Regions from separate parts of the Homo sapiens genome. Here regions 2 and 3 are each linked to region 1. Evidence: promoter capture Hi-C in human tissues and cell types (Jung and others, 2019). All regions are on one chromosome and are shown on one strand. The core of a region is centred on a gene start or on the middle of the fragment in contact, and the rest is flanking DNA. Distances in the headings are between cores, read along the strand shown.

Region 1 (3,101 bases), core at 452-2,951:
AGGAAAGAAAGCTGGTGGTGTTATTTACATATGAGGCAAAGTTGACAATAGCAAGCATTATTAGAAATAAAGAGGAACATTTCACAATTGGAAATATTCAAAAGAGCTGGAATACATTTGTCTTATTTAAGGCATAGAGAGAAGACTCGCATGGCTGTAGACAAAACTGATTGGAGGATGACCAGGTACTAGGCTGTATCTGTAATCTAGGTGAGAGAGCATGGCTCAGGGGTAATATACGTGGGAATGGCTTGGATTTGGTTTATATATTGGAGCTAGATCTTTGATGAGATTGAGTGAAGGCTGCAGTGGGAAAGGGTAAGCAAGAATGACTCCTAGACACCGCTCAGCAATAAAAAGCACTTAAAATATTTATCAATATATAGATGAATTCCAACATAATTATGCTCAATGAACAGCCCCCACTTCCCTAAAGATTACGTGCGATACAATTCCATTTATATAAAACACCAAGAAAAACAGGTTGGGCACAGTGGCTCACATCTGCAATCCCAACACTTTGGGAGGCTGAGGCAGAGGGTCAATTGAAGCTAGGAGTTCCAGAGCAGGCTGGGCAACACAGAGAGACCCCATATGTTTAAAAAAAAACAAAAAGCTAGACATGGCGGTCCTCACCTGCAGTCTCAGCTACTCGGGAGGCTGAAGCAGTTGGATTGCTTAAGGGCAGGAGTTTGAGGCTACAGTGGGTCCCGATCGTGTCACTGCACTCCCGCCTGGGTGACAGAGCAAGCGAGACCCAGTCTGTATAAAAAGATATTTAAAAACTCCAGGAAATTCAAACTATAGTGACAAAAAGCAGATGGGTGGGAGGGGGAGGAGGGAAGGAGGGAGAGAGGAAAGGGTTACAGAGAGACGGGAGGAACATCTTCACTGTTGATTGTGATGATGGTTTCACAGTGTATACATGTGTCAAGATGTATCAAACTGCACACTTTAATTTGCGCCACTGCACTCCAGCCCAGGTGACAGAGTAAGGTCGCTTTCCCCGGGCTCGGCCGGCCTCTCCACCCGGCGCTCGGGTGCTGCGCTGCCTGTTCCTGTTGCCACTTCGTGTAAGTTAGCGCAGGCAACAACACACAAGACCAGCACACGTGAAATGGTCCATTTTAATGCACTGCCCCCAGGGAAAGGAACATTACCGGCTTCTGGCCATGTCGTCTTCCCAGTCCCAGATGGCGGTTCCGGGTTTGGGCTCCGAGGCCCTTCGCAGCACTAGGGCGGCGCGAGTAGGGCCGCCCTCCGAGCCATGCTGCGGTCCGAGGTGACGCGCGCACGCGAGTTCGCGGACACGCACGAGACGCCCGGGCCACGGAGGCGCGGGGCTGGCCCAGGGTCCCCGCCAGGCCGAGCTCTAGGGCTGCCGGCCCGGCCCGGTGACCCCCGCGCTCCCCTCCGTCCGCTAAGGCCCCGCGGCGCCGCGCATGCGCCCCGCCGCCGCCCCCGCCCCCACCGCGCCCGCGCCCGCGCCCAACGCCCCCACCGCGGCCCGCGGGCCATGGAACCTGCCAAGGCCGGCGCGGTTCGAGCGCTCCGGTGCGCGCGTTCAGGCGCCTTTCCCCCGTGAGCCCGGCGGCGCTCGGACCGGGCCGCCCGCCGCCGGGCAGCTCCGCCCGCCTCTAGCGCCGGCTGGGCGCGCCCCCGCCCCGGTGCCCGCGCGTGCGCGCCCCCGCCGCCGCGTGTGAGTGTGAGTGTGAGTGTGAGTGGGTGTGGGTGCGAGCCGGGCCGCCGACGATGCCGCGGGGCCGCCCCCCGAAGCCCAGGGAGAGCAAGGCGCGCGGCGACTCCGGTAAGGCCCGCGGCCGCGCCCTCGCGCCCCGCCGGCGGCCGGTGCGGGGCCCGCGCCCTGCCAGTCCCCGGATGCGGCGCGGGGGGCGCCGGGAGCGGCGGGGCGGGGGCGGGGGCCGCGCAGACCCGGGCCGCCGCCGCCGCCGACTGGCCGGGCGGGCCGCAGCGCGGGCGGAATGATACGGGCGAGTCGCCGCCCGGCCCCTCCGCGCGCTGGGCCTACTTTCCTGGGCCGGGCGGCGGCTGAGGCGGGAGGCGGGAGGCGGGTGAGGGAGCAGGCGGCCGCCTCCTGCGCGCGCCCTGCCCCCGCTGGCCCTGCCGCGGCCCGCGCTGAACTTGAGGGAAAGTGGCCGCCCCGTGTTCCGTCCCGGGGCCGGAGGGCCGCGGGGCGCGCTGGGGAGGCGGCCTGGCCAGAGCCCGGGCCTGCGGATACCGCGCCCCGGGCTCCTCCCGGACGGCGCCCCCGCCCGACCCTGCGCGGCGCCGGCTGCCCCGGGGACGTTGGGCTCGGCCCACAGGGAGGCCGTGGAGCGCGGGGTCGTGCACACAGTAGGCGCCAGCGTTGTCCGGGAAGCGCAGGGTCGTGCACACAGTGTGCTCCAGTGTTATCTGGGGCGCGCTGTGGGGCGTGCATACAGTAGGCGCCATTGTGATCCGGGAACTTGAACCCTGAGCCTCTGCAGACGCTGTGGGTAGTGCATACAGTAGGCGCCATTGTGATCCGGGGGGCTGGAACCCTGGGCATCTGGAGAGCGCTGTGGGTCGTGCAAACAGTAGGCACCATTGTGATCCGGGTAGCTTGAACCTGGAGCTTCTGGAGAGCGCTGTGGGTCGTGCATACAGTAGGCATCAGTGTTATGTGGGGAGCGCTAGATCGTGCACACAGTAGGCGTCAGGAAGTGTTTTCCCCAGTAATTTATTCTCCATGGTACTTTGCTAAAGTCATGAAATAACTCAGATTTTGTTTTCCAAGGAAGGAGAAAGGCCCAGAATTTAAGAGCAGGCAGACACACAACCGGGCACCCCCAGACCCTGGCCCTTCCAGCAGTCAGGAATTGACTTGCCTTCCAAAGCCCCAGCCCGGAGCTTGAGGAACGGACTTTCCTGCGCAGGGGGATCGGGGCGCACTCGCCGGTGCCGCGGTTCCCAGGTCGAGGGCAGTGGGGTAGGGGGCGCCGCGCTTTTTCTCGCGGGCGCCGTGGTTCCCGTGCGGCCTTGGACGCGAGTCTCCCCCTGCAGGCCTGGTCCCTGGTCCTGGTCACCCGTGCAACTGGAGCGGCGCTCCGCGTTTGGAA
Region 2 (3,101 bases), core at 206-2,705, 870 kb after region 1:
CACTCCCGTTAAGTGCGTCCTGGCAATTGTTTGTTGAAGAAAACCCCTCCTCTAGCAGAGCACATTGACACTCTGATGTGGACAGGAGCACGTCTCCAGAGTGGACTTTGTGATTCAGGAAGCGTGCACCATCAGAGGTAGCCAGCCTAGCAATTCAGATTATGTCCTCAGCTCCCAATGACCTGGACTTTATCCCATCCTTACCATTAACCACCTGATGATTTTGGGCAAGTTACTTAAACTCTTTGTCCTTCAATCTCCTCAACTGTAAAATAAGGATAGAGGCGTACCTACTTGAGAGGATTTTTGTAAACGTTAAATGAAGGAATACAAATAAAGCCCTTAGACCTAAGACATAGTAAACACTTAATTCTAAATTATAATTATCGTCATTAACATCAGACCAAGAAAAACATATTCCCCAAATACTGGGTAGGAAAGACTCAGAATTCTGGCACTTGTAGGATTTAGAATCAAATCAGAACTTCCTGGCCAATCGTCCATGGTCTTGCATGTATGGTTAAATATGTTTTCAGCTCTTAGGGTAGCTGAGTGGTGCCTGTGTCTACCAGGAACCCTAGGCTGATCTCCCATCTTGAGCAATCTCGTCTAGTTTTCCCAGTGCCTTGTGAAAATATTGCCATTTTTTATGTGTGTCATAATATCAAATATGCAAATATCATCATTTTCTATGTGTACCAGGTCGATGGCACTGGGGAAGCAATGCACATTGAAATGGTTTGGCTTTGTGTCCTCACCCAAATCTCATGTTGAATTGTAATGACCAATGTTGGAGGTGGAGCCTGGCGGGAGGTGACTGGACCATGGGGATGATGTCTAATGGTTTAGCACTATCCCCCTAGTGCTGTCCCGTGATTGAGTTCTCATGAGATCTGGTTGTTTGAAAGTGTATAGCACCTGCCTTTTGCTCTCTCTCTCCTGCTCTGCCATGGTAAGATGTGCCTGCTTCCTCTTCACCTTCTGCCATGATTGTATGTTTCCTGAGGCCTCCCAGCCATGCTTTCTGTACAGCCAGTGGAACTGGGAGTCAATTAAATCTCTTTTCTTCATAAATTACCCAGTCTCAGGTAGGTTCTTATAGCAGTGTGAGAATAGACTAATACACGCATCATCTACGGATGTGCTGAGAGAAGACTGAAGCCTCAAAGTCACCCAAAACTCTGTTGAGTCTTTTGTCAACTCTACTCTATTAACCAATGCCACATCTTGACTATTTGGAGAGATCTAGGCTCAATCTTCCCTTTTTTTCTATATTTTATTATTTTAACCTGGGTAAAGATTACAGATCAATCATCAGACACATGAACTGCAAGCCTCACAGCCTCTGTGAATAAATGAATAAATAAAATTTTAAAAAAGTAGAGAGTAAAGTATAGAGCATAAATAAATCAAATAACTAACAATCAAGATAAGAGAAATTATATACTAATCTAAAATCTGGATTATACAAAAGCTTAACGACACCTAATGATAACAATCATTGACGAAATTATGGATCAATAAGTGTGCTTATACACTGACAGAGAGGATAGAAATGATTAAAAACAACTTTGCAAAAAATAGGTGAAATTGCAGATACACACACTTGAAGTCTCAGATTTTACTAATATAGTAAAATCTCTCACTCTAGAGAACTCATACACACAGAGAAACACATGCCATGTGGTGCCACCATTGGGAACCAACAGCAAGCGTGTCACCAGCTTGGACACTTGGCCCTGGTAGAGTAGATAAATGTCTGCCCTGTCTTTCTGTCTTGTGTATCTCATTTTCCTCAGGATTTCTATTTTTTTTTTTTTTAACCAGGGAGGAAGGGAATCATGGAGGAAGACAGAACTTTTGACTTTTCTTCAATGCAACTGCTTTGTTCCATTTATGGGGGCATTGCCTCTCTCAGCCCAGGTTGCACCTCATCCTGGTGGCCTTGGCTTTGTGTTGCAGACTCCCTGTCCAGTGGCTGAGATGGCCAGCCTTGTACTCCTGGGTTGGGTAGTGTAATCATTGCTGCTTTTCTCATTCCTTGCTGTTAGACATATTTTAATGGGAAACGTGCTGGTCTCTGTTTCCACACTTTCCCCTAGGCACTGCAGTCTCACGTCCTGCACCTGCCTTTTCTATGGTGGATGCTATTTTTTTGTAGAAGACAGATGATATCTTTTTTAACTCGAATATTTAAAGCTCTTAGACAAGTTTTAGGCATTGCATGAATTCTGAGTACGAACCACTTAACAGAAGATGGGGGTTGTATCAGCAGCAGAGCTGGACTGGTCAGTGTTCAGATTTCAAAGTAAATCTCTGCTCCTCTGGTTCTGAGTTTTGTTCTCATCTGCTGCAGCATATTTTGAGCAGAGTTGTGACTCCATCTACATCTGCAAATTTTCCCTGCTGCTGATAGGTTCACATAGCTCTCAAAATACTCTTTGGAAAACTCCTTTTCCTTCAGCAGTAGCTATAGAAGGAGTTTGATTTAAAAAAAAAAATGTCTCTTACTGTTGTTACAGAGAATCTGCCTTTTGGGGGCCCATTGGGGATTCCGTTCTCCTTATTCAGACACCATTTATCGATTGCTTTCTTTTTCTTGGTCAACTTGATTCTGGCCAAGGCAGAGGTCTTGTTGGGGCTTAGGGGCCCTCCATCCCCTATCTGTCCGATTGTGGGCGGCCTGCCGGTGCTCTAAAGGCTCAGTCTGTCTGTCTGATTCTGGGCGGCCTGCCGGCGCTCTAAAGGCTCTGTCTCTCTGTCTGTCTGACTGTGGGCGGCCTGCCGGCGCTCTAAAGGCTCTGTCTGTCTGTCTGTCTGACTGTGGGGCGGCCTGCCGGCGCTCTAAAGGCTCTGTCTGTCTGTCTGACTGTGGGGCGGCCTGCCGGCGCTCTAAAGGCTCTGTCTGTCTGTCTGACTGTGGGCGGCCTGCCGGCGCTCTAAAGGCTCTGTCTGTCTGTCTGTCTGACTGCGGGCGGCCTGCCGGTGCTCTAAAGGTTCTGTCTGTCTGTCTGTCTGACTGTGGGCGGCCTGCCGGTGCTCTAAAGGTTCTGTCAGTCTGTCTGTCTGACTGTGGGGCCTGCCGGCGCTCTAAAGTCTCT
Region 3 (3,101 bases), core at 278-2,777, 840 kb after region 1:
GGTGCTGCGATGTGATGGCAACTTCTCCTCTTCCAGCTGAGACCAGTCTCAGGAAGAGAGACACTGCAGGCCAGTTACACCTAACAGAGCAACTTAAAAAACACACGTAACCTCAGGCTGTCTACTTTCCAAAGGGGAACGGTCATAAATAGGAAATTTATCTCAACAAAGTGAAAGGAGGAATGAGCTGTAGGAGCCAACAGAACTGTCGTTCTTCTTAAGCACCAAACGCTTGGCGTCTGAGCGTTGGTTTTCATGGTGTTCAACACAGGGTTTGCTAGAGCATGCACCAGCTTTGTGAAGGGCAAGCTTGCTTGCTCCTGGGAAAGGGGCTGGAGGAAAAGTCTCCAACACATCCCACTGAGTAGAGAAAGGGACACATAAAGATACAAGGAGTACCAGAATTTTTGGAGACAGAACTATCAAAGCTGCTACTGAACCAATGACAAAATGGAGAAAACAGATGATACCAAAGAGCGTAGTTTGAATTTCAGAACCATAATATGTGGTCACAAAGTGGTAACCTTGTAGTCATGAGGGTATTATCTACTGTCATTTGCATGATAGAGAAAACGCCCATAGATGAGGAAAGAATAAAAACTCAAAAGCTTAACTTTCCTAAGCAAGAGAAGAAAACCAGTTAATATTAAACAGGAAGTAAGGTTAGCACTTGAAAAAAAACATTGCGAGCACAATGCTGCATTTCACACAAGAAAAAGATGGCTCAGTTACAAGATAAACTAAAGATGCGGCCTTTCTCTATGTCTGCAGAACACAGGTAGTAAAATGAACCTGCAGGTGCACCGTTATTCGCCGGGTGTTCTGCAATTGTCATGGAGGTGCCACGGAGGGGAAGTCAGGACAGTGGAAGGGGGTGTACTACGAGAGATCCAGCTTACGAGGGCAGAATTTCTGTAGGAAATATGCTATGCATTTGAATGGGGCTGAAGCCTCCTGTGGAAGTGCAACTAGCAACTAACAAGCATCTCAGAGCAAATGAAGTGGAGGGAAACTTAAATTGTGGCGTTGCTGAGTTTTGGCTGCGTAGATGAGACAGAAATTGCACCATCATTGTTGTTTCGTCTATCTTATTTTCTAGGCTTGGAGCTCCTTGGGGAAAGAAGTTGCTCTATTGGATTTGGTGTTTTCTCCATGTAACACAGCTCCAGGCAGACACCAGGTGCTTTAATGAATCTTTCGTGCTTTCTGGGCCATTTTTCAACTGTCTGAATGTTCCCAATTGCATCACTTTGAAGAGCTTGGTAATTTAGCTAAAATTGCAGCTCTGTCCTGAGAAAGCATCAGATAGCAAACATATCTCCATAGAGAAGGATTATAACCAGTCCCAAGGTATGTTAGTGAGGAAGCAATTAAGTGCGTGGACCAAAAAAAAAAAAAAAATTAGTGAAAGTATAATGTAAACATGAAGGGCAGTGCCAGCAGAGCAAGACTCCCAGGTCTGAAGTTTGCACCTCTGTGCTGTGAGCAGGACCCAGAACGGCTGCCGTCATGAGGAGATGGTTCAGAGGTCACCCTCCGAGCTGCTCATGTAAGGGTGGGTCCTCCAGGTAGCCTCATTTCCCTGCTATACCTGCTGTAGGAGCCATGGTATCAGAGGGGAGTTTATCAATGAAAAAGTCATACAAATAAATTTTAGAAACAACAACAATGAAGACCAAAGTTCTCCATCCATCATTTTCCGGTGTGATCCACGATTCCTGGTTTTTACAGAGTTCAGCAGAATCTCGCTATTAGCCCTGCAGCCTGGCTGTGAGGAAGCTGTTCCATGCCGTCACCAGCATCAGGTCCAATGCACATCTCTCTTTCTCGCTGGGTGCAGAGGATCCAGTGGAGAATGCTGGGGCTACCTCGTGCACGATGGAGTCACTGAGGAAAGGAGCCTGGGGCCCTGAATGACTGGGTGGAGTCCTCTTTTGCCCCTCGCCATCAGCTCTGTTGGACTGGATAAAAGTTAGAAATGGAAACTGTGTTGGATTTAGCCACTGAGATTTGGGAAATTATTTTTTATAGTAGAGTGCCTATGCTAATGAATATAGAAACAATTCTAACTACTCTCCAAATATTTTCATCATGATACATAGTCCTCCCAATAGGCCAAAATGATTGATTGCCTCCCACTGTTGCCATTGCTGTCCGTTAGTCATCTTTTTAAAAAGTTTGCCACCATTGTCAAACAATGAATCTCAATTATTTAATGTGGACCTAGTTAAGAATCATATTGTGCGCCATTTCATGTGTTTATCAGCTTTTCTTCTGTGAATTGTCCCCCTCCCCTCCCCTCCCCTCCCCTCTCCTCTTCTTCTCTTCTCCTTTTTTGTGAGACAGAGTCTCACTCTGCTGCCCAGGCTGGAGTGCAGTGGGGTGATCTCGGCTCACTGCAGCCTCTGCCTCCCGGGTGCAAGCAGTTCTCCTGCCTCAGCCTCCTGAGTAGCTAGGGACTATAGGTGTGTCCCAACACATCCAGCTATTTGTATGTGTATGTGTGTGTATGTGTGTGTTTGTGTGTGTGTGTATTTTTAGTAGAGAGGGGGTTTTGCCATGTTGACCAGGCTGGGCTTGAACTCCTAGCCTCAAGTGATCTACCTGCCTTGGCCTCCCAAAATGCTGGGATTACAAGCGTGAGCCACTGCGCCTGGCCCTGTGTGCATTTTCAAGGTGTAGGCTGCTTGGGACCTGCTGAGCTGGGAGGGAGCCACTGTTTGGGGTTTCCTGCACCCTGATTCTGATTTCTCTCTGTCAATAACTTGTTCTTGCAGATGCTGGGCTTGGATCAAGAACCAGGAAAACTGCTTTTTAAGCAGAAGTTAAGCGATGGCCAGTATTGGCTCCCCCAGAGTTGTCATGAAATCCTAAGAATACAGAGATGGGGACTTGCTCTATCCTGGCAGGACCCTCCTTGGGTGACCACTACCATTGGCAGCTTTTCCAGATACAGCACCTCAGGCTGAGCAAGAGGCAGCCACACAGCGTCCTGCCTGTCCCCATCCCTGCAACAGCTGTCAGCACGGGTTCTGCATACTCCCTACAGTCAGGGACTTCGGGCAAGTCCGTCTGTGGGTGTGTTTTCTTCCCAACTTGGC

The links. Contacts are between HindIII fragments. The study calls those that stand out against the background at their distance.
Region 2: a contact is called between a fragment that was not itself captured here and the fragment with the promoter of ZNF236 in region 1, in 1 of the 25 tissues and cell types used here (lymphoblastoid cells).
Region 3: a contact is called between a fragment that was not itself captured here and the fragment with the promoter of ZNF236 in region 1, in 1 of the 25 tissues and cell types used here (dorsolateral prefrontal cortex).

The regions. Positions count from the first base shown.
Region 1 is chr18:76,820,856-76,823,956 of GRCh38, forward strand. It overlaps ZNF236 (zinc finger protein 236), which reads left to right and starts at 1,702. Exons shown (of 31, transcript NM_001306089.2): 1 at 1,702-1,807. The coding sequence starts at 1,753. It overlaps ZNF236-DT (ZNF236 divergent transcript), which reads right to left and starts at 1,440. Exons shown (of 3, transcript NR_040024.1): 1 at 1,161-1,440. RefSeq lists enhancers at 984-1,063, 1,104-1,213 and silencers at 1,284-1,473, 1,594-2,333. The HindIII fragment of the contact is 16,105 bases long and covers 1-3,101 here.
Region 2 is chr18:77,687,639-77,690,739 of GRCh38, forward strand. No RefSeq gene overlaps it. Among named protein-coding and RNA genes, the nearest start is that of LINC01029, 300 kb to the right of the region's middle. The HindIII fragment of the contact is 5,257 bases long and covers 1-3,101 here.
Region 3 is chr18:77,664,714-77,667,814 of GRCh38, forward strand. No RefSeq gene overlaps it. Among named protein-coding and RNA genes, the nearest start is that of LINC01029, 330 kb to the right of the region's middle. The HindIII fragment of the contact is 5,019 bases long and covers 1-3,101 here.